7 separate regions of the Homo sapiens genome follow, and all the other regions are linked to region 6. The links are contacts of gene promoters, found by promoter capture Hi-C in blood cells and fetal thymus (Javierre and others, 2016). All regions are on one chromosome and are shown on one strand. The core of a region is centred on a gene start or on the middle of the fragment in contact, and the rest is flanking DNA. Distances in the headings are between cores, read along the strand shown.

Region 1 (3,678 bases), core at 799-3,298, 1.1 Mb before region 6:
ACATACTGGACCTTTTCCAAGCCCCTGTCAAGAAGTGATAAATTATTGAAGCATAGCATAAAGTGTTTTATTTTCAGTGTGCACACGGTAAAACCCTGTGAAATGCTTCTGTTCACCTTTCCCAAGTTATTAATTAAAAAATAATTGTTTCCAATTACTCTCTGATCTTTAAAATAAACCAAGACAAAACACTACATACACCTCTCCAGAATCAGCACTGCCCCTTCCCTCTCTCCTTCTCGATCCTGCCCCCCATCCTTCAACCAAGCAGTTGTTTCGAATCACACCATCGGCTCCTGAAATAGGAATGCTATTTAGATTGGGAAGGGAGGGAAGAGGAAGTCCAATACAACATTCACACAATTGTCTGGTATTCATTCAACCACAGTGCCCAGATATATTTGTTGTTCCTAGAGACAGCGTAAAACTGTTTGGAGAATAAAGCAGGGTTGTGGAAAGCTCATTAATAAATTGTGAAAATCCTCTCAGCAGGAGTCACATAACCAGAGGAGCTGCCTTGTGCCAAGCAACATAAAGCCTGGTGCTCTGCTCCTGGACAATGTCAAAGGCAAATACAGCTGATTTTTGAGAAAGGCCTCCCTACAGCCACTTGCTAGACCAGAGTTAGGAAAAATTCTTTCCCAATCTCAGCTCGGCAATTAGAACCTGAATTATGTTTACAAACTCTAGGCTTTGCTTTAATCTGACTGTGAGAGATGTACAGGAATGGCCCCTCCCCTACTGTGTTCATAAACTGAGAGAATAACGTTGATGCCAATGCTCCTGAAAGGGAGCAGGGAAACCTAAAAAGTCTAATTGCATAAGGAGATGCAGGGGGACCACTGACAGGAGGGCTTTCTCCTCACTGAAATCTTGTTCATCTTTAGGATTTCTCCAGCACCTCAGTTCGAATTCCCACTCCTTATGTGCAAGTGGCACTCTTGGCTTTCCAATTCTGTTTTTTATTTAGGTGACTCAATCAGTGGCTGAACTTCTGATCCTGTGGCCCCTTTTTGTAGCTTCAGACTGAAACTGGATGCCTTTGTAGAACATATTCACGCAAGGATTCTGTATGAACAGAAAAGGATGCAATAAAGGAGGATTCCTCCAAAATGTTTTAATTATATGTCCATACAATATATAAAATATATGCATCATTTTAGCTGGATAAGAAAAGCAAGTCAAATGAAATGACACTTCTCGAAACTTAAGTTAAATAATCTTGTAGGAAGAGGTATATTTTGTCTTTTTTTAATTATTTTAGCATTCTGTACACTGACAACGAGGTAAAAGAAAATGACTGAAACTTACAAGTGAAAGAACATTTCACAATTAAATCCACAATTGTATACATTTATCTTACTCACATGTCAGTGAAAAATCACCAACTATTATAAAAAGAGGACAAATTGTATCACAAAAGAAGCAAAAATTAGAAAAAATTCATAAAAAAATATATCCAACTATGAAAAGCGTTGCTCTCTTGGTGTCTTCACATCCGTCTCTTCTGTGTACTGATGTACAACACTGAAAAGAAAAAAATACATAAATTGAAATTTAAAAAACCCTGCTTGTAAGTATACATAGTAGCAAGTTTAAAAGCCAACAGATTTTGGTCTGATACATCTGACATTTAAAAGGAATTCTCGTATCATTCAATTAACTCTAGAAGTACTGTAAGACTAGTTTTATGAATCTACACCCAGGTTTGATGTCTTACAAAACTGTCCTAATTTCATCCATGTGTCTCACTGACTCTTTAAAGTGTGACCAGGAAGATAAAATAAAATATATGTGAAAGTCCCTGGTATCTAAGAATGCTTTATAGTTAGAAGTATAAGAATTATGCTTTTCAGGGCTGAACACGGTGGCTCACGCCTGCAATCTTAGCACTTTGGGAGGCTGAAGCGGGTGGATCACTTGAGCTCAGAAGTTTGAGACCAGCCTGGGCAACATGGTGAAACCCCGTTTCTACCAAAAATACAAAAAATTAACCAGGCATGGTGGTATATGCACTTGTAGTCCCAGCGACTTAGAACGCTGAGGTGGGAGGACTGCTTGAGCTTGGGAGGCAGAGGCTGCAGTGAGCTGAGATTGCACAACTACACTCCAGCCTGGGCCACAGAGCGAGACTTCATCTCAGGAAAAAAAAAAAAAAAAAAAGATGCTTTTCAGAAAGTAAATCAGTAAATCTAACCAGGCTAGATCTCAAATTAAGAATAAACAACATATTTTCATCTGTCTCCCCAATACAAACTCTAAACTTGCTGTTTACCTTCTTAAATGCAACAGGATAAACAAGAGCTAAGGAGTTTATTTTTTATTTTTATTTTTTAATGATACCAAAGTCCTTATTCTGAGTTCCCGTTAAAAGTCTCATACTTTGGTGTTACCTAATGTTCTGCTTAGTGGTCTTCTCATGACTACCAACATGAACTCGTAGGATGTGTGGTCCGTAGGAATGAAACAAAATGAAATGCTTGGGTCACTTTGGCCAAACTAGAGGTGGTTCTCCCTTCCACCTTCCATGCCTACTCGGCTTCTGAGAGGTCTGCTCAAAGCGAACAGTAAGGTGTCTTCATCAAAGAACATAGCACAGATGAATCAAATAAGTCAAGATCCTCTTTAAGAGCCAATGATGTGAACTTGGGAGTCTAAAGATGAGTGTCACTGATTACATCATGGGAAATGTGACATGAAGGGAAGCATCAGAATGCCAGTACAGCCGCCCCCCAACCCTGCCCCCCAAGTCCTAGGGGTAGTGTGCACGTTAAAGGATCTACCCTATCAACACGCACAGAACCCAACCTGCCAGTGACTGCTGCCATTAGCTGTCTTGAGGTGAGACAAGATCATAACATTTCTTAGGAAAAAGAGGAGGTCAAATAAGGATATGAAAAATAGGATAAATAATTCTATAAATAGAAAGGACTAGAAAGCCAGGAAATAATGTATGTAAAAATATGATATGAAGAAATAAGGTCCTGTAAGCATAGGGGACAGACTCTTATTATAAAAGTCAGGAAGTTTAGTTTATAGCAAAGAGATCCAACTATTTAGGGGGTTGAAGACATCCAGAATTAAAGAAATCAACAAAAAATCTGAACTCAAGAATCCCAGAGTTTCTGGGAGATGGAACCAAAAAGTGGGGTAATTCTCATAATTCTGATATCTTTCCCTCCCCACCAAAAATACAAATATGACTTTATTATAATTTTCATTTTTAAACTAGGTACTTAAAAATAACTATAAAAATCATAGCAATTTATTAGTTGTTAAAAACTGAGTAACTTTTTCTATTTTGCCATTTTTGCCAAACTGAAGGATGCAAATCTGCATAGAAAGCATCTGAATGTTTAATAGAGAAGGGACAAATAGGACGAACTGCCAAATTATGCAAATCAAAGACAGCAGGGAAACGGTGCCCATTCTTACATCTCCAACTTCCAGGCTACAAGAAGCAGGAATATGTGTTGGGGAGATATACTACACTATATTCGAGAAAGCAGGGTTCCAGGTAAGGAGAACAATGTCCCTCAGTTCCTCATCACTAAAGGAAGGGAAGGAGAGAATTTTGGTTTCAAAATTCCATGAAGCATCTACAAAATAACTGGTCAAACTGAAGATCTGACATATAAGCATTTTAAAATAATCAAGCCTAAAAGTGGACTTTTAAAT
Region 2 (3,206 bases), core at 591-3,090, 1.5 Mb after region 6:
AGTAATACCTTAAGGAACCGGAAAATACTAAATGTCTTTGGCTATACAACTAAAAGGCCATTCTTTCAAAAGAATAGGGCATATTCATTTCAGAATCAACTAAAAAAAACAGAAAGCATAACAGAAATATGCATAGAATTTAAGTATACTTTGTCTTGCCTTCTTTTCCCATTCTACCCACATAAGCAAGGAGAATGCAATTTATATAATCTTTCCAGATGAGACTCAATAGCACTACAAAGAAAATACCCAAATTTCTGCAAAGGCAAAGTGAATTAAAATAATTACACAACTAGGTGAAGACTGAAAGGGACAAATGTTATTTGCAATTTTCTTTTTAACTTGTTTTTAAGCCTTACAAGTGTAGAAATTATAGCTAATAAACAAAAAGTCACAATCTTCACAAATGGAACTACAATAGAAAAATAAATCAAATGAAACACTTAGTAATAAATGAAGCCTATTTTATTACTTCAAGTGTTAATGATAAAAAAATTTCAGCACAGCTGTTGCATTTAAAAAAGTGAAACTACATACTATGTTTCTAGCTCAGTAAACAGATGAACCTGATGTCTTTAAATGACATAACAATTGAGCATTGTACAGTACATCTTATGAAGACCCGTAAATTAAAGAACTACTGGTTTAAAGTTAGTGATTATGAAACAAAAACATATTCATAGTTTCAGCTTCTTTTTTCTTCCTCGACCATCAGGTGCGCCATCCATTTTACGTTTCTGTGTCTACAAACAGACAGAAGGATTACTTTTCACAAGACTAATATAAACATGAAATATAGTTGCAGACACATTATAACACTTTAGTAATAACAACTACTACAAAGTAATAGGTATGAGACTTTTCCCCCAGGCTATATAAATCTTTCAAAGCAAACTATAAAGCCTCCAAATAATCTTACCTACTTATTTTACTTACAGAATAAAAAATGTTAATGTTAATAATGACGTTATAAAACTAATGCACAATTAACAGTAGTAGATCAATATCAAATAAATGCAAGCTTCCCAAAATAGTAAGAAACACTTGAGTTTTTAAAAGGCAGTTACATAAGTACCAAATATTATCCAGAGATACTCATTTATTCATGACTTTATAAATTAACCATTTTTTATTAAATTAACTATTATTAAATAACATTTTTTCCCTTTAAGTGTTTGCCTTCACATTGCTAAAACATCACTGAAATAATCAAAGCTTAGAGACTAACAGTAAAAGTCATAATACCACTGCTTTTCCAATGTTTCTTAAATTATTCTAAAATTATAACTTGTATTCTCAATGAGATGTGTACACACTTGACATTTACGAGACATACTTTCCTGATTTTCACGAAGCCCCATATTAAGGACTACCATATCATCAAGAAGTGATTTTTCCCACACAACCCAGTCAAGCTAAATTTGTACTTTTTAAGTATTTCAAGGAAGTCCTAGCTACAGCAATCAGACGAGAGAAAGAAAGAAAGGACATCTAAATCGGAAACAAAGAAGTCAAATTGCCCTATTTGTAAATGACATAATCTTACATTTGGAAAAACCTAAAGACTCCATCAAAAAACTATTAGAACTCATAAACAAATTCAGTGACACTGCAGGATACAAAATCAACATACAACAAACAGTAGCATTTCTATGCCAACAGTGAAGAATGTGAAAAATAAAAAGTAATCCCATTTACAGTAATTACACGTGAAATAAAATACCCAGGAATTAATCAAAGAAGCGAAAGATCTCTAAGATAAACTATAAAACACTGATGTAAGAAACTGAAGACACAAAAAAATAGATATTCCATGTTCATGGATTAGCAAATTCAATATTGTTAAAATGTCCATACTACCCAAAGCAATCCACAGATTCAATGCAATCCTTATCAAAATACCCATGACATTCTTCACTGAAATAGAAAAAAAAATACTAAAATTTATATGGACCCACAGAACACCCAGAAATAGCCAAAGCCACCCTAAGCAAAAAGAATAAAACTGGAAGAATCACATTACCTGACTTAACTTATAGTACCGAGCTATAGTAACCAAAACAGCATGGTGCTGGTATAGAAACAGATACATAGATCAGTGCAACAGTGGAAAAGAACAGAGAACCCAGAGATAAGTCCGTAAAGTCCATACATCTACATGGAACTCATTTTTGACAAAGCTACCAAGAACATACACTGGAGAAAGGACAGTCTCTTCAATAAATGGTAATGGGAAAATTGGATATCCATACACAGAAGAATGAAACTTGACCTGTATCCCTAACTATATAAAAAAATCAAATCAAAATGTATTAAAGACTTTAAGTCCTCAAACTGTGAAACTACAAGAAAACATTGGGAAAACTCTCCAGAACACTGGACTGGGCAAAGATTTCTTGAATAATACCCCACAGGCAACCAAAGCAAAAATGGACAAATGGGATCACATTAAGTTAAAAAGCTTCTGCACAGCAGAGGAAACAGCAAAGTGAAGAGACATCCCACAGAATGGAAGAAAATATTTGCAAACTACCCATTTGTCAAAGGATTAATAAATAACCAGAATATGTAAGAGCTCAAACAACTCTACTGAAAAAAATCCTAACAGTCCGATTTAAAAATAGGCAAAAGATCTGAACAGATGATTCTCAAAGGAAGACATACAAATGGCAAACAAGCATATTAAAAGCTGTTCAGTATCACTGATCATCAGAGAAATGCAATCAAAACTACAATGAGATAACATCTCATCCCAGATAAAATGGCTTTTATCCAAAAGTCAGGCAATAACAAATCCTGACAAGAATGTGGAGAAAAGGAAACCCTCATACACTTTTGGTGGGAACGCAAATTAGTACAATCACTGTGGAAGCAGTTTGAAGGTTCCTCAAAAAACTACAGATAAGAGTTACCCTACTCCTAGGTTTACACCCAAAAGAAAGTCAGTATATCAAAGAGATATGTGCACTCCCATGTTTACTGCAGCACTATTCACAGTAGCCATGATTTGGAAGCAACCTAAGTGTCCATCAACAGATAAATGGATAAAGAAAACATGGTATGTATACACAATAGAATACTATTCAACCATAAGCAATGAGACCCTGTAATTTGCAGCAACATGGATGGAACTGGAGTTTATTAAGTGAAATAAGCCAGACACAGAAAGACAAACTTGGCATGTTCTCACTTATTTGTGGGAGCTA
Region 3 (3,491 bases), core at 922-3,421, 1.6 Mb after region 6:
GATCATTTTGAAAAGTAATGATTATGAAATGATCCTGTCCTAGAAGCAGAGGCTGACAATCTGCTGTTGTCACACGTTCCTGCACCTCAAATGCATAAGAATTTTTTTTTTTTTTTTTTTTTGAGATGGAGTCTTGCTCTGACACCCAGGCTGGAGTGCAGCGGCGCCATCTCAGTTCACTGCAACCTCTGCCTCCCAGGTTCAAGTGATTCTTCTGCCTCAGCCTTCCAAATAACTGGGACTACAGGTGCATGCCACCATGCCCAGCTAACTTTTTTTGTATTTTTGATAGAGACAGGGTTTCACCATGTTGGCCAGGCTGGTCTCAAACTCTTGACCTTAGGTGATCTGCCCACCTCAGCCTTCCAAAAAGTGCTGGGACATGAGACTACTTAATAGTCTCCATTTTCCCTGCAGAGTTTAATATACCTTTCATTAATATCTGAGTATTCCCACCACGTTCCTGCCACTCCTCCCCACCAATTTAACTCCTTTAATTACTTTGCTTTCAAGGAAAGCATTTTTTAAAAATCTATCTCTACAAAAAGGTATGAAAAGGAAAAAGTAAACCCATTCACTGACAACTCTTACAACATGCTTTTGATAGTATCATAGAGGAGATTCACCTACTGGTCCAAATGTCATTCTTATTAAAATATAGAGAGAAACACAAACTTGAATCTGCACACTTAATACTATAGCAGTGATATTTCGTATCTTTAAGAGATATGTAATAATTTATGAAAGGCTATAGTGTCTGGCGTTTGCTTCGAATAATCTGGGAGGAGGAAGGGTATAGCAGACTAAAAACGTTTTTATTAGTTAAAATCAGAAGCTGGCTTCTAAGTTCTTTCTGCATTCGTGTAATTTAAATATACCCAAACACACAACACAGACATACCCATTTTCATAAAAAAAGTCAGCATACTACAAATAAAAATGTTTCAGGTCCATGTACATGGTACCTTATTAAATTAAAACTCCACATAAATAATTAAAAAACAATATCATGAACACACCACCACTGTCTAACAATGGATCTGGTAACCATGTGTGGGAGGGAGATGCATTCTTCACATTTTATGACAGAAAGCTATAATTTCTAGGAAAGTATATATAAAGTATGAACTCTTCCCAAAATCAAGGGAGTATGGTTGCTCTAACTATTGCTTACCTTCTAAGAGACTTAAGGCCTAAAATCAGGAGTGGGGGTTAGAGCTCAGATAATGAACAGGTTTTTTTAATGTTCTACACGTCAACCTTGGAAAGCATCAGAGCAGTCATTTCAAAGTACAGTGCTCCTTTGTTTTAACATGAGCATTTTAAAACAGTTTTGATAATTTGATACGGGTAACCGATACCTTGTTCTTTTAACTTAGGGAGCAGCTTGTCTAAAACCACCATTTTGCCACTGTTGGTTACTAGATGCATATCTGTTGTATAAGGTGGACCAGGTTCTGCTCCATCAAAGAGATATGGATGATTACAACATTTTCTCAACTGCATTAGGATGTTCAATAACCTCATTTTGTCCATCTTGCCTGCTGAGTTGAGTATATCTATATCCTTCATTAATATCCGAGTATACCTATTCAAAGAAGAAAAACATTTTTAGAGCTCAAATGTTCCTTGATCAATCCCTGCCACTTTACATACTTAATCCCCTTCCCCACATGAACCCCCAAATATCTGTAAGAAACTACTCATCAACTTCTAGGTATGGTTAGGAATTTAACATCTGTAACCTCTTTTTGCTTCCATTTTTCTTTACTGTCCATAGCATTATAATGTTCATACTTACGCCTTGGGCCTTGAGGATATTATTTTTAAAGTACAAAAACAGTTCCCTTGGGTAGAATTACAGCAGTAAGACATAATATTTTTAAGTAATAAAGCAAAACTTAAAAAATGTAAGTTTTAAACATAATTTTAGTTTGCAGTTTTTTTGCAACAGAAAGTGCCACTATTCGATTACTATATACCCCATAGCTAGTGTAGCATTTAGGTAAGAACCCTAACATCTGAGAAGACAGGAAGAATAATGAAATGGTAAGGCATGATGATGAGAATAATATGAATACAACGTGACTTAAACATACGTATAAATACATGGGGGAGGGAGGTATGTCTGTGAGGCAGGACTGTGAAGCTACAGCCATAAGCTAAGGCCAGATTATAAAAAGCCTTGAACATATACTAAGGATGTAGACATTGTTATGAAAGAATGAGTAATTTGTCTAAGCATCAAAGTTTTAGAGCCTTGGATCCTTTGAACAAAGTAAGTAGCCTAGGCAATCTATGCTTAAACAACAAGGCAGACCTTTCCATCTCAATTCTGATATAAAGTTCACTCAAATGTTTAACTAAAAAAGATTTGTCTTTCCTTAGCATTGACTCATCTTAGTTCTGTTTTAGAGCCATCCAAGGTAAGCCTAATATCTGCTACCCTTTCAGAAGTTTTTGAGGACATTTAGGACCAACCACCTTCTACAGATAACCTCTTACCCAGATAACATGCCCAGTTCTCTATATGATATTAAGTCCTTTAACCAAACAACTCTGGCCTCTTGCAAATACTTATCAAAATTTAAGTATGCAGTTAAATATACATGAAATATGATGAGACCAGTAAAGAAAAGGGTAGCTATATTTATTTCCTCTCCTTTGAACACTACATTTACATTAAGGCCAACAGTATCTTTTTCTGCAGCTACTTTACACTGACCCAGTATTTATGAACTATAAGTGAACCATATATCTCCCACACTGTGCTATCACAGTTTCCTTTTTAAAAATCCCAAGTAGATGGTTTCATATGAACCCCGTTTAATTAAATCCCAATTTTAATTTTGGATTCATAAGCCTTCCATCCTGATTCTGTCATCTAACAGGTTCAAAACTTTCTATAACGAACTTAATGAGCAAGTCCTATACTACGTGACAAGAAAACTCTTTTCAGGTTGAGTTCAATCCAGCAAATTGGAATTCCATGAAGACACAAATTAGGAAAACAAAATACACATGAAATTTAGGGAAGAATCAATAGTGCTATCAAGTACATCTGAGAATACATACCATTCCCTTTGCATTTTGCTGAGGCCCACATAGATTTTTACTTCCTTCTTTGGAGGCAAACTCTTTTCAACATCAGCCTTAATTCGACGAAGGAGGAATGGACGCAAAACCTTAAAAAGGACAAAAATAAACAGGTAATACCAATATTACACATAAGGTCATATTTCAGCATCTTAGAATTGTATATAAAATACATGAAAAAGAAATTTCTCTGCGTGAGTATCAAGTGATTTCTTAGGACTTCTCCCTGCAAATACAGTCATATCTCAGTATCTGTGGGAGACTAGTTCCTGTCCCCTTCCCTTTGAATACCAAAATCCACAAATGCTCGAGTCCATTATAAAAAATGTAGTATTTGCATATAACCTACAAACATCCTCCCATATACTTTAAATCATCTCTAGATTACTTATAAT
Region 4 (3,211 bases), core at 556-3,055, 1.9 Mb after region 6:
CTGGAAACCACTGGTAATTTTGGTAGAGTAATGGTGGTAAAAGCTTGATTAGCTGGACTCAAGAGATAATGGAAAGAATGTTTTCATATTGGATATTTGAAAATGAAAAAATTATTTTAATTACTTATACTTTTTTTTGAGACGCAGTCTTGCTCTGTCATCCAGGCTGGAGTGCAGTGGTGCTATCTTGGCTCACTGCAACCTCTGCCTCTCAGATTCAAGTCATTCTCGTGCCTCAGCCTCCTGAGCAGCTGGGACTACAGGCATGAACCATTATGCCAACCTAATTTTTGTATTTTTAGTAGAGACGGAGTTTTGCCATGTTGGCCAGGCTGGTCTTGAACTCCTGGCCTCAAGTGATCTGCCCGCCTCAGCCTCCCAAAGTGCTGGGATTACAGTTGTGAGCAACCATGCCCAACCTAATTACTTATATTTAAATGACATTTAAAAAAATTTCTAAAGCCTATTCAAACTGTTATTCAAAACAAAACAACAATAACATATTCAAAATTAGATGCTTTCAAGGATACCACCCAAAGAAAAAAATATTGATTTTATGAGTCTATATATTCTAATAGATTTCCATACTCCCACTTACCAGTTCTATTTTCAGCAAAGTAACATCTATCAAAATAGTAAACTTCTGGACAGCTGCCAGTCCTTTCAGGAGTGCAATTACCCATGTATCCACATGCTGAGCCAATGGCCAGGATAGCCAGTCAATCATTCTGAAATTGAAGGAAAATGAAACAATCATTATTGAAAATATTTTCATTTAGTTAGTGATAACAAGAGTTACAGTAGATAATCACTCACTTTGTGAATAAACATTTACTGAATTTGCTGGTGAAAAGCACTGACCAAGATGTAGAAGTGAATGTAACAGGTGCTTGTTCTCATGGAATTTCCAATCTTGTAAACTGACAGTTTCTCATATCCAACATATTTCCATAAAAAGAATTTCTGATAAATTATTTTGCATAAACGCAAAACTTAAAATTTATGCTATATAGTGGCACAGGTTGAGTATTCCTTATTTGAAATGTCTGGAACCAGAAGTGCTTTGGATTTTCAATTATTTGCATTACATATTTACTGGCTGGGCATTTCAAATCCAAAAATTTGAAATCTGAAATGTCCCAATGAGCATTTCCTTTGAGCATCATGTCAGCACTCAAAAAGTACTGGATTTTCAAACATTTCAAATTTGGGATGCTCAACCTGTATCAAGAATTTATTAGGCAAATTTACTCTAAAAAGAGCAGCTGAAATGTAATCTGAACTAAGACATATGAATATGATCCAAGATTCCTCCTTCCTGGTGAGTACAGTCTAATATGAAATGTACTGTTTAAAAAGACTGTATTTTGAACTGTGAAAGAGGTATCTTTTTCAAATCCGACTATACAAAGAGAACAAAAAGAAACTTCAAATATATAAAAAAGCACTAAGTCTGTAAATATTGTAATGGCTTCATTTTGCACTAATGAGTGCTTTTCTTGAAAGAAAACTCATTAAATTACCCAATTTAGTGAAAAAAAAAAAAAAAGTAATATAGGATTGGACAGAGACACTCCCTAAAGTTAGATCTCTACCACAATGAAGATTGATACAACTCTTTCAGAAAGCAGCTGAAAGTCAGATGCAGTGGCTCACGCCTGTAATCTCAGCACTCTGGGAAGCCAAGGCGGCTGGATCACCAGAGGTCAGAAGTTCGAGACCAGCCTGGCCAACAGGGTGAAACCCCATCTCCACTAAAAATACAAAAATTAGCCAGGCATGGCGGCACGTGCCTGTAATCCCAGCTACTCGGGAGGCTGAGGCAGGAGAATGGCTTGAACCTGGGAGGCGGAGGTTGCAGTGAGCCGAGATCACGCCACTGCACTCCAGCCTGGACAACAGAGCGAGACTCCGTCTCCAAAAAAAAAAAGAAAGCAACTGAAGCAAATGTTCATATAATTTGACCTAGTAGTCCTATTTTTGGGATTATATACTAAGAAAATAGAAAGGGGAAAAATGAGTTTTTGAAGCCAGAGTGACTGGTTTAAAAAGCTCAATTCACCATTTATTAGCTAGGGGACCCTAAATACCTACATAGATTATTTAACCTCTCTGTTTCCTCACCTGTAAATTACAGATAAACATGCTTATTTTATAGCACTGTTGTGAAGATTAAATGAATTAATCTATAACACTGGAAACATTGTGAATGCCTCTCTTCCACCAAATGTTAATACATGTGGCAATAAATAAATACCTTGATTATACAAAATGTAAATATAAACACTAAGGACATAAATACATTACTAAAACAACAACTACTATGTTAAAAGGACTGACATCTTTTTTCTTTTTGAGACACAGTCTCGCTCTGTCACCCAGACCGGAGTGCAGCAGCATTACTTCAGGTCACTGCAAAGTTCGCCTCCTAGGCTCAAGCGACCCTCTCTCCTCAGCCATCTGAGTAGCTAGGACTACACAGCTGTGCATCACCACAACTGGCTAATTTCTGTATTTTCTGAGATGGGGTTTCACCAAGGGGGTTGCCTGAGCTGGTCTTGAAATCCTGGCCTCAAGTGATTTGCCCACCTCGGCCTCCTAAAGTGTTAGGATTACAGGTGTGAGGCACTGTGCCTGGCCAAAGGACTGACATCTTCATTTATATGGTTATTTTCACAACAGTTGTGTTATATAACTATCTACATTAACACTGGAATGTTTTTTATTAAGGTTTTTGCTTTTAAAATTAAAATGTCCATTCGGATATTAAGAGTGGTCCCAAAGTCCAAATGCATGTTAACTACAAGTTATGTGTATGTTCCCTCCATTCTCTACACAAACTTTATTTCCATTCTTGTTTTTCTGGCCTTTTCCAACAATGATGGTTACAAGTGATTAACATAGTCCTTGACAGCTATTCCACGTCTTCCAACTATTGTTGGGGTGATTCTCATAAAATTTTGTGGCCATTCTACTTATACAGAGTAGCAAAGCAGAGACACACTTGCATATGTGTACAGAGGGTATTCACTGTAGCACTGTTTATGGTATAGAAGAACTGCAAACAACCTAAATGATTGTCAATAAGGAAATGGCTACTATGGTACTGATACTATGCAACAGTATATAGAGTTTTAAATAATAAGATAGATGTACATGAATCTATCCATGAGGAATCTAAAATGGAAAGAGCTGAGAAATTGTTGAATTA
Region 5 (3,289 bases), core at 341-2,840, 1.6 Mb after region 6:
GTTTCAATGAAAAATTCTACCAAATATTTAAAGATGAATTAATACCAATTCCATACTATCTCCTGCAGATAATAGAAGAGGATGATACACTTTGTAATTCATTTTATGAAGGTGCTTTATCTCTAATACCAAATCAGACAGACACTACATAAGAAAGAAAATGACAGACCAGTATCACTGATGAATACAGACAAATCCTTAACAAAATATTATCAGATACAATTAAACAATGTGTAAAAAGAATTATGCACCCTGATCAAATGTGATTTATTCCAGATATTCAACACTGATTCAATATTTGAGTATTAGTCAATGTTGTCTGCCATATCAACAGGCTAGAGAAGAAAACTCACATGATTATATTGACTGATGAGGAAAAAGCATTTGACAAAATTCCAACACCCATTTAGAACAAAACTCTCAGAAAAAAAAAAAAAAAGAGAAAACAAATAGAGTGGAACTTCCTCCTCTTAATACAGAGCATCAGCAAAATACCTACAGCAAACATTATACTTAGTGAGATTGAATCCTCTCCCTCTAAGATCTGAAACAGGGAAGGTTTTCTGCTTATAACATTCATATTCAACACAGTGCTGAAAAGGAAAAATAGAGATCACTGAAATTCTCTTCAAACTGACATAAAACTTTTGTTGAAAATCAGAATAATGAACCAATTTGGCCAAATACAAATTTATATTTTTCATAATCTTTAACCATAAAGTGGAAGTAATGCTAGTTTATTTGATCAATAAATCAGTATAAATTTAGGAAAAACATTCCCAACTAAAATTATTATAGGATTTTATTATACTTAATATTGATAAATTAGATAAGACATAGATGATTTTATTAAAACAAAAATATTAAATTAGTCTTGTTTGCCAAAGATTCACCTACACTTTGTGAACATGGCTTCTCTACTTGTTAGTTTCAGTAAGAATACTTTTCTTTTAGATTTTAGCACGTTTAAATTATTAGAAGTTTATTATTTTCTGGGAATTTTTGGAATACTCAATCCATGTAAGTATCTTTATTAGTCAATCAGAACAGGCCCCTTTAAGAGTTTGTAATTGAACTTATTGATTACATCCTGAGATGGAAAACATTACGCACTCACAAAAGGAAAGTAAAATTTTTTCTGAATTATAGACACGTATATAGACAGAGATAGATAGCACTTAGAGTTTTAATTCTAAAATTTCAGCCATTGGTCAAGAGTAAATACAATATCAAAATAACTTTCCAGTTCAGATACTAAAGAGCTGTTCTTCCTGATAGACAGGAAATTCTTAATTGATTTAAGCCCTAAATAGATAAATTGACAAACCAAAAGACTAACAAATCCAACACTTTGTTGTCTCTCACTCAGCAGAGAATAGATCTTTATTAGCCACAAATTCTTCTACAGAAATCAAATGGTCAGATCATAAAAATCAAATTGCCAGTTATTGCTGCCACTAATGGGAAATAACTTATCAGCTGCAAAAGAACAAAAAAAACCCATAAAATTAGTAGAGAAGAAAACTAAAAATAGAAAAACATCATCAGCAAATTTATATTGCTGCTTTGGATTTACTTCTGGAAGCCAAGACATGCTGGGCTTAAACTACCCATGAGATGCACTTCTCTGGTGACAGTTTACCTGGTGATATGGTTTGGCTGTATCCCCACCCAAATCTGCTCTTGAATTGTAATCCCCATAATCCCTTCATGTCTAGGGAGAGACCTGGTGGGAGGTGACTGGCACATGGGGGCAGTTCCCCCATGCTGTTCTTGTGATAGCAAGTGAGTTCTCACAAGACCTGATGGTTTTTATAAGGGGCTCTTTCCCCTTCGCTCCTCTCTCTCTCACCTGCTGCCATGTAAGATGTGCCTTTTCCTGTTCCACCATGATTGTAAGTTTCATGAGGCCTCTCCAGCCATTCAGAACTGTGAGTCAATTAAACCTTTCCTTTATAAATTACCCAGTCTCCGGTATTTCTTTATAGCAGTGTGAAAACAGACTAATACACCTGGTCTTGTTAAGTGAATCCAGTGGACATGTTTGTGGAAAACTCCCAAAACTGTTAAAAGAAATTTTTTAAAAAAGTAAAAGCATGATTCTCATACATACATAAAAAAGAACACTTGTTAAAGATTTTATTTAACTCACTAATACGGAAGTTAGTGAGGTGTTAACAACAGTTTAAAGATTAAAAATGGAAAAACAAATTTATATTGGGTAAAGAAAAGTTGAAATTAATGTGGAAGTGGAGGTAAAATTATCTTCTTCCACACTAGGGGAAGGAAGTCAGTTTACCTTCTAATGCATAGGACAACACTTGCGTATGTACAGACGAGAATTATTTTGCACTTGTATAAGTTATTTACAATTTACAGAGTTGTAAAATAGCTCACATAGAGTCAGAAAACCCAAAAGTCTGTCTTCTGGAGTCAAGACAGTTCATGATTTTCTATTTAAGCCCATGTTTTCCCCTATGTGCTATTGTTTTAGTTTTATTGTAAATAATTCTCATTTGGACTTGTAAGTAACCTACTAGTTAATTTGTCTTTATTTTACACTAAGTAAAAGAACTGAAATTCAACCCATATGCAAGCTGGTAACCACTGCAGCATATATTTTTGTCATTCTGCATCTCTCCAGAATAGCTTTCTTTGCTTTCTCTTGGTTTCTCTGCTTCTAAGTAAGTGCATTGTGTTTAGTCTGTTCCAACTCCAACTGGCTGTGCATTATAGTACCTCATAGATAACAACCAGTGTTTCAATTACAAATCTCAAGGTCCAGAGACAGATCAGTTCAGTTTAGGTCAGGTGCCAATCCCAGATTCGTTAGGTATGAATAGGGATCAGGCCACTAGATATAAACATGGCTACCTAGGCCACCTCTTGAGCAGCAACCGAGAATGGAGGCTCTCTTAGAAAGAAGAGTAAATTAGTGCAAAGAATTGACTGGAATCTCTAGCATATGTTTATGGTCTATTTATGTTGCAGAAAAGTAAACTATCTTTGATAGAAAAATCTATTAATGTTCCCATTCAAGCATTATGATCCTTTTAATTTTCATTCATGGTTCAATTTTTATCCAAGTTGCCAATTCTAAGCCCAGTTGCACTTGAAATTGAGTTATTCAGTTAAAATGTATTTGAAGTATGTTTTTTTGAGAGCTGGAGATTAATTTTGGCCTTTTGAAAATTTGATTCTTAACACTTGTAGGTATATAATTATTATTCTATAATAACTCATTATGAAAGATGGTATGGACTTAGTATCTTATAAATTCAAAGAAACT
Region 6 (3,247 bases), core at 381-2,880:
TAGAAGCATTTACAGTCTAAAGCCAAAATAATTGTAACGCTGTGTAAAAGCATTTCAAAGACTGCTGTTAACTAATGATGTTTAGTATCACATGAAATAGTCTAACCCATGCTTATTGTAGTTTATTAGTCTTACAAAACACGTAGAAGTTAGGAGTGGTACACGGCTCTGATTTCAAAGAGTTTTAAGTTTAAGACATTTAGAAGAACTCTAACTTAATATTGTTTTCTCCCCCTCTCTCCCAATTGTTAGATGCTCTTCCAACAAACAAACAAACAAAAAAACTCCCTTTTTTAAAATAGGGGAGAACTAAGTTCTCAAAAAGCTCACAAACCCCAAACAGCTTTTGGTTCAAATACAGGTTCTGAGCCTTTGGTTACACTAACAAAGTATTAGTGTCAGGTGGCTGGTATACAATGAATATTCTCAGAATATGGGACAAACTACTGCAACATAAATGCCACTATCATAAATGACTAGTTAGCAGTCCTGTTGGGAAAGAGTAAAAAAATAAAACATGTTATTTGGACAGTTCTTCCTCTTATAGATTTTTACCATCAAAAAAGAGAAAATAAGCTTATGTAGTTAATGGGAGGTGGGAATTCGGCTTTGGCTGTCATTCATTCACAATACGTATTAAATGCCTACAATGTACGAAGCCCTGAAGAGATAATAAAGGTATTCTGAGTAAAGACATCAACCTTGATCTCAATGAGTATTAGATACAATAAAAGGAAAAACGGGTAAGGGGAGAAAGTGCCTAGTGCTACAAAAGCGTACCAAAAAAACTATAGGATTTCTACTGGGAAACTACTTGGGACAACCCCAGTCATAGCTGCGTACACGCTGTTCTGAGAAAAGCAGAGTGACATGTGGGCATCATTTCTATAAAGCCTGGGAGTGGACAGCGAGTATTCGACTTCATGGCGGCAAGATGCCATGACTCATTCCACTCAACAAAACGTGGAAGCCACGACTTCCCACAACCAAATATGCACATGTGACAATATATCCATTTTGGGTGCTGGAGGAGTGTGGGGGTACTAGAGAGTGCTGTAAGTTCTAAAGGTGCCTTCCTCTCCAGCAGGTTTAGCTTCAGGGCGGGAGTGGGGTAAAGGGGGAGTGGAGACTACGGCATCTAGGTCCATTCTCGAAGTCCCTCGCGGGTGTGGCAGGCAACAGCGGCGACAGCCGGGTCGGCTGGAGGGGAAGACCGAGGCGCCCCCAAGCTCTCGGCGTCGCCCGCGCTCCATCAGTTCCAGCTGTCCCGCAGGAACCGCTGCCACGCGCTGCTGCTGTCTCCGCCACCTAAGGCCTAACCAAAGGCTCTCGGAGAACGTCCCTACATTCTTTCCAACCTGGCAGATGGCAGCTAACGGCCAAACCTCTCCGGGCTATTCACGTACCTGGAGAAAACGATCCCCTTGCGGAGGGGAGCACAGAGGCCAAATCAGCTCTTGCCTTCACTTTTCAGCCACACAGCGTGTTCTCACGGCCACCGGCCAAAATGGCGGTGCCCAGCCGCCGCACGCGCAAGCCATAGGACGTAGTGCGCGCGCGCGACATAGAGCGTGAGGCGGAACCCTGGAGGTAGGTAGGGAGATATGACGTCATTGAGCTGCGACCCTTGTTCAACGCCGTTGGCGAAGCCAGCTGCTGGAGGTGCCGAGAATCTGAGTTTCGGCAAGCAGCCAGGTCTGGAAACTGTGAGTGTGTGGGCTTTTCTCCGACGTCGAGCGTGGTCCTAGCGTAAACAGATGCATTCGCCTCTCCGGTTTCAATCTTTTTTTACGTTTGCGCTTTCCTCAAGGCCGGTGGGTCAGGAGTGGAGCCTTAGTCATTCTAACGCTGGAGGTGTCAGTAGGACCAACAGAGTCTGGTGCCGACACGGCTTACTGTTGCGCGCTCTTCTAGGCCTCAACTTCCTCTCAACTGTGTGGTCAGTTCAGGGCCGGGAATCCAATCTTTTCCGAGCTCCATATTTTATCCACTTGGTGGCGTCCAGTCCCAAGTCCGGCAGTTGAATTCTGCCCTAAAGATGGGCTTTATTTCTATCTTTTTTTAGGTAACAGGACATTCAGTTAGTAATGATGGTTGCAGGTTGAATAGTCTCGCCCTAGATCTCACCTAACTTGCAGGCAAGTGACAACTAGTTCATAACTGAACCTATTCATCTGTTTATTCATTCAGTAAATTACTTATTGAGCGTTTAAGCCTCAGGCCTTGCCAAAGTTTACAGTCCGTTGTGTCTGCCGTTATTTAGTAAGTATCAAGTGCTTGTGTGCCGATTAAAGAACAACTTCGGATACAATGGGAGGTGTCAAGGAAACGGTATGCAGAACTATTGCACCTATTTTGAATAGCATATATAACAATGTTCAGTAGCAGTAACTGCGCTACCAAAGCAGTTTTACATATTGTTCACGATCCAGTATTGAAGTGTTTTTTCACATATGAATAGACTTAGTAAAATTAACAAAAGATGTGAAAGATGAGGTCAACCTTTTTAGAATGGGCCAGTTATTCACTTCAAAATCTTGAAGCCATTTTCCTGACCTTATCTTCTATGGTAAGAGCATATGTAAGTGAACTTTTAACATTTTTTTCTTATTTTTGTGCTTTTTGGGACAGTGTCTTGCTCTGTTACGCAGGCTGGAGTGCAGTAGCACGATCTCGGCTCACTGCAACCTCCGCCTCCCAGTTCAGGTGATCCTCCTGTCTCAGCCCCCCTGGGACTACAGGTGTGTGCCGCCACACCAGGCTGATTTTTTGGAATTTTTTTAGAGACAGGGTTTCACCATATTCCAGGCTGGTCTCGAACTCCTGGGCTCAAGCAATCCACCTGCCTTGGCCTCCCAAACTGCTGGGATTACAGGTGTGAGCCACCGGGCTGGGTCTTAAATAAAACTTTTGACAGCTAGAGGGCAGGTATGACTGTTCTCTGCATCACTCAATGAATATTTAAAATGAGGATCTTAGTGGGGTGATGGGATCACACCTGTAATCCCAGCTACTTGGGAGGCTGAGGTGGGAGGATCGCTTGAAGCAAGGTGTTCAAGACCAGCCTGGGTAACATAGCTAGATCCTGTCTCTAAAAAAAAAGGAATTAAGTAAATAAAATGAGGATCAATATTTATATATTCCTAGAATAAAAGTATTTCAGTCTGACTTTTCTAGGGCTAAAAGTCATTTGAATTTTCAGGCACAGAATTATAGAACTGCATAGCATTGTAGAAGTAAAAATCAT
Region 7 (3,460 bases), core at 68-2,567, 1.5 Mb after region 6:
GGGAGAAGGATAGTTTGAAGCCAGTAGTTCAATAACAGCCAGGGCTATAAAGCAAAACCCTATCTCTACAAAAAAAATTTAAAAATTAGCTGAGTGTGGTGGTGCACACCTGTGGTCCTGGCTACTTGGGAGGCTAAAGCAAGAGTATTTCTTGAGCCTGGGAGTTCAAGACTGCAGTGAGCTATGATTGTGCCATTGTACTCCAGGCAGCCTGGATGAGACCCTGTCTCAAAAAAAAAAAAAAAAAAAGATGAGCTCCTGTTCCATTTCAGCAAATTATTTTTCCCAGCATCACATTGGCTGTGATATGGCTGAGACTATGACTCTATTCTCCTGACTGCTAGCTAGCCCAGTGCTTACTCCACCTAATAATGGAGGGTGATTTGAAAGATTTTTCCTAAAGCCTTTTTAGACTTCTTATCCTCTTCTTTTAAATGTAAAGCAAAGTATCAGATTTCTTGGCACCTTTTTTAAAGTGATTTAATGTTGGTAGTTGATATGGATTGGCTGTGTTCCCACTCAAATCTCACCTTGAATTGTAGTAATCCCCATGTTTCAAGGGCGATTACTTTGGACTGTGGACTTTTGAGTTAATGCTGAAGTCAGTTAAGACTTTGGGGGATTGTTGGTAAGGCATGATTGGTTTTGAAATGTGAGGACATGAGATTTGGGAGGGGCCACGGGTGGAATGATACGGTTTGGCTGTGTCCTTACCAACATCTCACCATGAATTGTAATAATCCTCATGTGTCAAGGATGGGGCCAGGTGGAGATAATTAAATCATGGGGGCAGTTTCCCCCAACTATTCTCATGGTAGTGAATAAGTCTTACAAGATCTGGTGGTTTTATAAACGGGAGTTCCCTTGCACAAATTCTCTTGCCTGTTGCCATGTAAGACATGAATTTGCTCCTCATTAGCCTTCCGCCATGATTGTCAGGCCTTCCCAGACATGTGGAACCGTGAGTCCATTAAACCCCTTCCTTCATAAATTACCCGGTCTCAGGTATGTCTTCATTAGTAGCATGAGAATGGACTAATACAGTAGTAAAGCTGTCTGATGGGCTCAAGTGTAAAAGTCAAATGGATAGCCTCACCTGATCCAGAAGTATCACTGCTGACATCTACCTATGAGCATTAACATGAGCCCAAAGTTTCCCTATATCCTCCTTTGGGGCAAATAAGAAGCAGGTTAGACAGCTGTAGAAGAGAAAAAAGACATACAGCCAAATGTGTAAAGCTTTGAAAACTGCTGTCTTAGTCCATTTGTGTTGCTATAAAGGAACACCTGAGGCTGGGTAATTTATAAAGAAAAGTTTATTTGGCTCACAATTCTGCAGGCTGTACAGGAAGCATGGCACCAGCATCTGTTTCTGGTGAGGCTTCAGGAAGCTTTCAATCATGGCAGAAGGTGAAGGGGAGCTGGTGTGTCACATGGCAAGAAAGGAAAAAGGGGGATGAAGGTGCCACACTCTTTTAAACAACAAGTTCTCCTGTGAACAAACAGAACAAGAACTCATTCATTCTGTAAGAAATGCACCAAGCCATTCTTGAGGTATCCACCTCACAACCCAGACACCTCCAGCCAAGCCCTGCCTTCAGCACTGGGGACCAAATTTAAACATGAGATTTGGAGGGAACAAATACCCAAACTATATCATTCTACCCCTTCCCTCCCAAATCTAATGATCTTCTCACACTGCAAAAAAGAATCATCCCTTCCCAATAGTCCCCCAAAATTTTAACTCATTCCAAGCATCAGCTCAAAAGTCCAATCTGAGACTGAGCATGGTGGCTCACACCTGTAATTCCAGCACTTTGAGAAGCCAAGGTGGGCAGATCACTTGAGGTCAGGAGTTCGAGACCAGCCTGGGCAACATGGTGAAATCTGTCTCTACTAAAAATATAAAAATTAGTGAGGTGTGGTGGCACACACCTGTAATTGCAGCTACTTGAGAGGCTGAGGCAAGAGAATCACTTGAACCTGGGAGGCAGAGGCTTCAATGAGCTGAGATCATGCCACTGCACTCCAGCCTGGGTGACCAAGTGAGACCCTTAACTCAAAAGAAAAAAAAAAAAAAAAAAAAAAAGGTCCAAAAGGTCCAATCTGAGACTCAAGGAAAGTTCCTTCCATCTATAAGCCTGTAAGATCAAAAACAAGTTATGAGAATTAAAAACAAAAATTATGTGATCATCTCAACAGATGCAGAAAAAGCATTTGACAAAACCCAGCATCCCTTTATGATCAAAACCCTCAGCAAAATCGGCATGAAAGGGACATAGCTCAAGGTAATAAAAGCCATCTATTATAAACCCATAGCCAACATTATACTGAAAGGGGAAAAGTTGAAATCATTCCGCCTGAGAACTGGAACAAGACAAAGATGCCTACTTTCACCATTTCTATTCAACATAGTACTGTAAGTCTAGCCAGAGGAATCAGACAAGAGAAATAAATAAAGGGCATCCAAATTGGTAAAGAGGAAGTCAAGCTGTCACTGTTCACCAATGATATGATCATATACTTAAAAAATCCTAAAGACTCATGCAGAAACCTCCTAGATCTGATCAATGAATTCAGTAAAGTTTCAGGATAGAAAATCAATACACACAAATCAGTACCACTGCTATACACCAACAATGACCAAGCTGAGAATCAAATCAAGAACTCAACCCCCTTTACAACAGCCACAAAAAAAATAAAATAAAATACTTAGGAATATACCTACCAAGGAGATGAAAGATCTCTACGAGGAAAAACTACAAAACACTGCTAAAAGAAATTGTGGATGATACAAACAAATGGAAACACATTCCATGCTCATGGATTTGAAGAATCAATATTGTGAAAATAACCATACTGCCGAAAGCAATTTACAAATTCAATGCAATTCCCATAGAAATACCATCATCATTCTTCACAGAACTACAAAAAACAATCCTAAAATTCATATGGAACCAAAAAAGAGCCCACATAGCCAAAGCAAGACTAAGCAAAAAGAACAGATCTGGAGGTATCACATTACCTGATTTCAAACTATAGTACAAGGCTATAGTTACCAAAACAGCATGGTAGTGGTATAAAAATAGGCTCATAGACCAGTGGAATGGAATAGAGAACCCAGAAATAAAGCCAAATACTTACAGCCAACTGATCTTCGACAAAGCAAACAAAAACATAAAGTGGGGAAAGGACACCCTATTCAACAAATGGTGCTAGGATAATTAGCAAGCCACAAGTAGGAGAATGAAACTGGATCCTTATCTCTCACCTTATGCAAAAATTAACTCAAGATTGATCAAGAACTTAAATCTGGCCAGCTGTGGTGTCTCACGCCTGTAATCCCAGCACTTTGGGAGGCCAAGGCAGGCGGATCACGAGGTCAGGAGATCGAGACCATCCTGGCTAACACAGTGAAACCCCGTCTCTACTAAAAAATCCAAAAAATTAGCTGGGCATG

Evidence for each region. Contacts are between HindIII fragments. The CHiCAGO score rates a contact against its expected background, and 5 or more counts as called.
Region 1: a contact is called between a fragment that was not itself captured here and the fragment with the promoter of ANAPC10 in region 6, in 1 of 17 cell types (naive CD8 T cells). The highest score is 5.7, in naive CD8 T cells.
Region 2: a fragment that was not itself captured here is called in contact with the fragment with the promoter of ANAPC10 in region 6 in 7 of 17 cell types (total CD8 T cells, naive CD4 T cells, naive CD8 T cells and 4 more); the score reaches 19.8 in total CD8 T cells.
Region 3: a fragment that was not itself captured here is called in contact with the fragment with the promoter of ANAPC10 in region 6 in 12 of 17 cell types (total CD4 T cells, naive CD4 T cells, naive CD8 T cells and 9 more); the score reaches 18.5 in total CD4 T cells.
Region 4: a fragment that was not itself captured here is called in contact with the fragment with the promoter of ANAPC10 in region 6 in 2 of 17 cell types (total CD8 T cells and total CD4 T cells); the score reaches 5.7 in total CD8 T cells.
Region 5: a contact is called between a fragment that was not itself captured here and the fragment with the promoter of ANAPC10 in region 6, in 6 of 17 cell types (total CD4 T cells, non-activated CD4 T cells, naive CD4 T cells and 3 more). The highest score is 13.6, in total CD4 T cells.
Region 7: a contact is called between a fragment that was not itself captured here and the fragment with the promoter of ANAPC10 in region 6, in 3 of 17 cell types (total CD4 T cells, total CD8 T cells and naive CD8 T cells). The highest score is 12.2, in total CD4 T cells.

The regions. Positions count from the first base shown.
Region 1 is chr4:146,187,471-146,191,148 of GRCh38, reverse strand. It overlaps LSM6 (LSM6 homolog, U6 small nuclear RNA and mRNA degradation associated), which reads right to left. Exons shown (of 4, transcript NM_007080.3): 4 at 1-1,527. The coding sequence ends at 1,493. Among named protein-coding and RNA genes, the nearest start is that of LSM6, 14 kb to the right of the region's middle. The HindIII fragment of the contact is 5,853 bases long and covers 1-3,678 here.
Region 2 is chr4:143,550,656-143,553,861 of GRCh38, reverse strand. It overlaps SMARCA5 (SNF2 related chromatin remodeling ATPase 5), which reads right to left. Exons shown (of 24, transcript NM_003601.4): 24 at 1-743. The coding sequence ends at 678. Among named protein-coding and RNA genes, the nearest start is that of SMARCA5-AS1, 37 kb to the right of the region's middle. The HindIII fragment of the contact is 1,246 bases long and covers 1,218-2,463 here.
Region 3 is chr4:143,534,549-143,538,039 of GRCh38, reverse strand. SMARCA5 (SNF2 related chromatin remodeling ATPase 5) reads right to left here. Exons shown (of 24, transcript NM_003601.4): 10 at 3,076-3,185; 11 at 1,362-1,588. Among named protein-coding and RNA genes, the nearest start is that of SMARCA5-AS1, 21 kb to the right of the region's middle. The HindIII fragment of the contact is 9,461 bases long and covers 1-3,491 here.
Region 4 is chr4:143,193,233-143,196,443 of GRCh38, reverse strand. USP38 (ubiquitin specific peptidase 38) reads right to left here. Exons shown (of 10, transcript NM_032557.6): 3 at 599-728. Among named protein-coding and RNA genes, the nearest start is that of USP38, 9.9 kb to the right of the region's middle. The HindIII fragment of the contact is 3,520 bases long and covers 46-3,211 here.
Region 5 is chr4:143,504,682-143,507,970 of GRCh38, reverse strand. No RefSeq gene overlaps it. Among named protein-coding and RNA genes, the nearest start is that of SMARCA5, 7.4 kb to the left of the region's middle. The HindIII fragment of the contact is 4,096 bases long and covers 1-3,289 here.
Region 6 is chr4:145,096,579-145,099,825 of GRCh38, reverse strand. ANAPC10 (anaphase promoting complex subunit 10) reads left to right here and starts at 1,630. Exons shown (of 5, transcript NM_001256706.2): 1 at 1,630-1,706. It overlaps ABCE1 (ATP binding cassette subfamily E member 1), which reads right to left and starts at 1,515. Exons shown (of 18, transcript NM_002940.3): 1 at 1,407-1,515. RefSeq lists enhancers at 1,204-1,283, 632-1,503, 1,534-1,793, 1,874-1,923, 1,057-2,256 and 1 more. The HindIII fragment of the contact is 4,584 bases long and covers 579-3,247 here.
Region 7 is chr4:143,566,122-143,569,581 of GRCh38, reverse strand. No RefSeq gene overlaps it. Among named protein-coding and RNA genes, the nearest start is that of SMARCA5-AS1, 53 kb to the right of the region's middle. The HindIII fragment of the contact is 152 bases long and covers 1,242-1,393 here.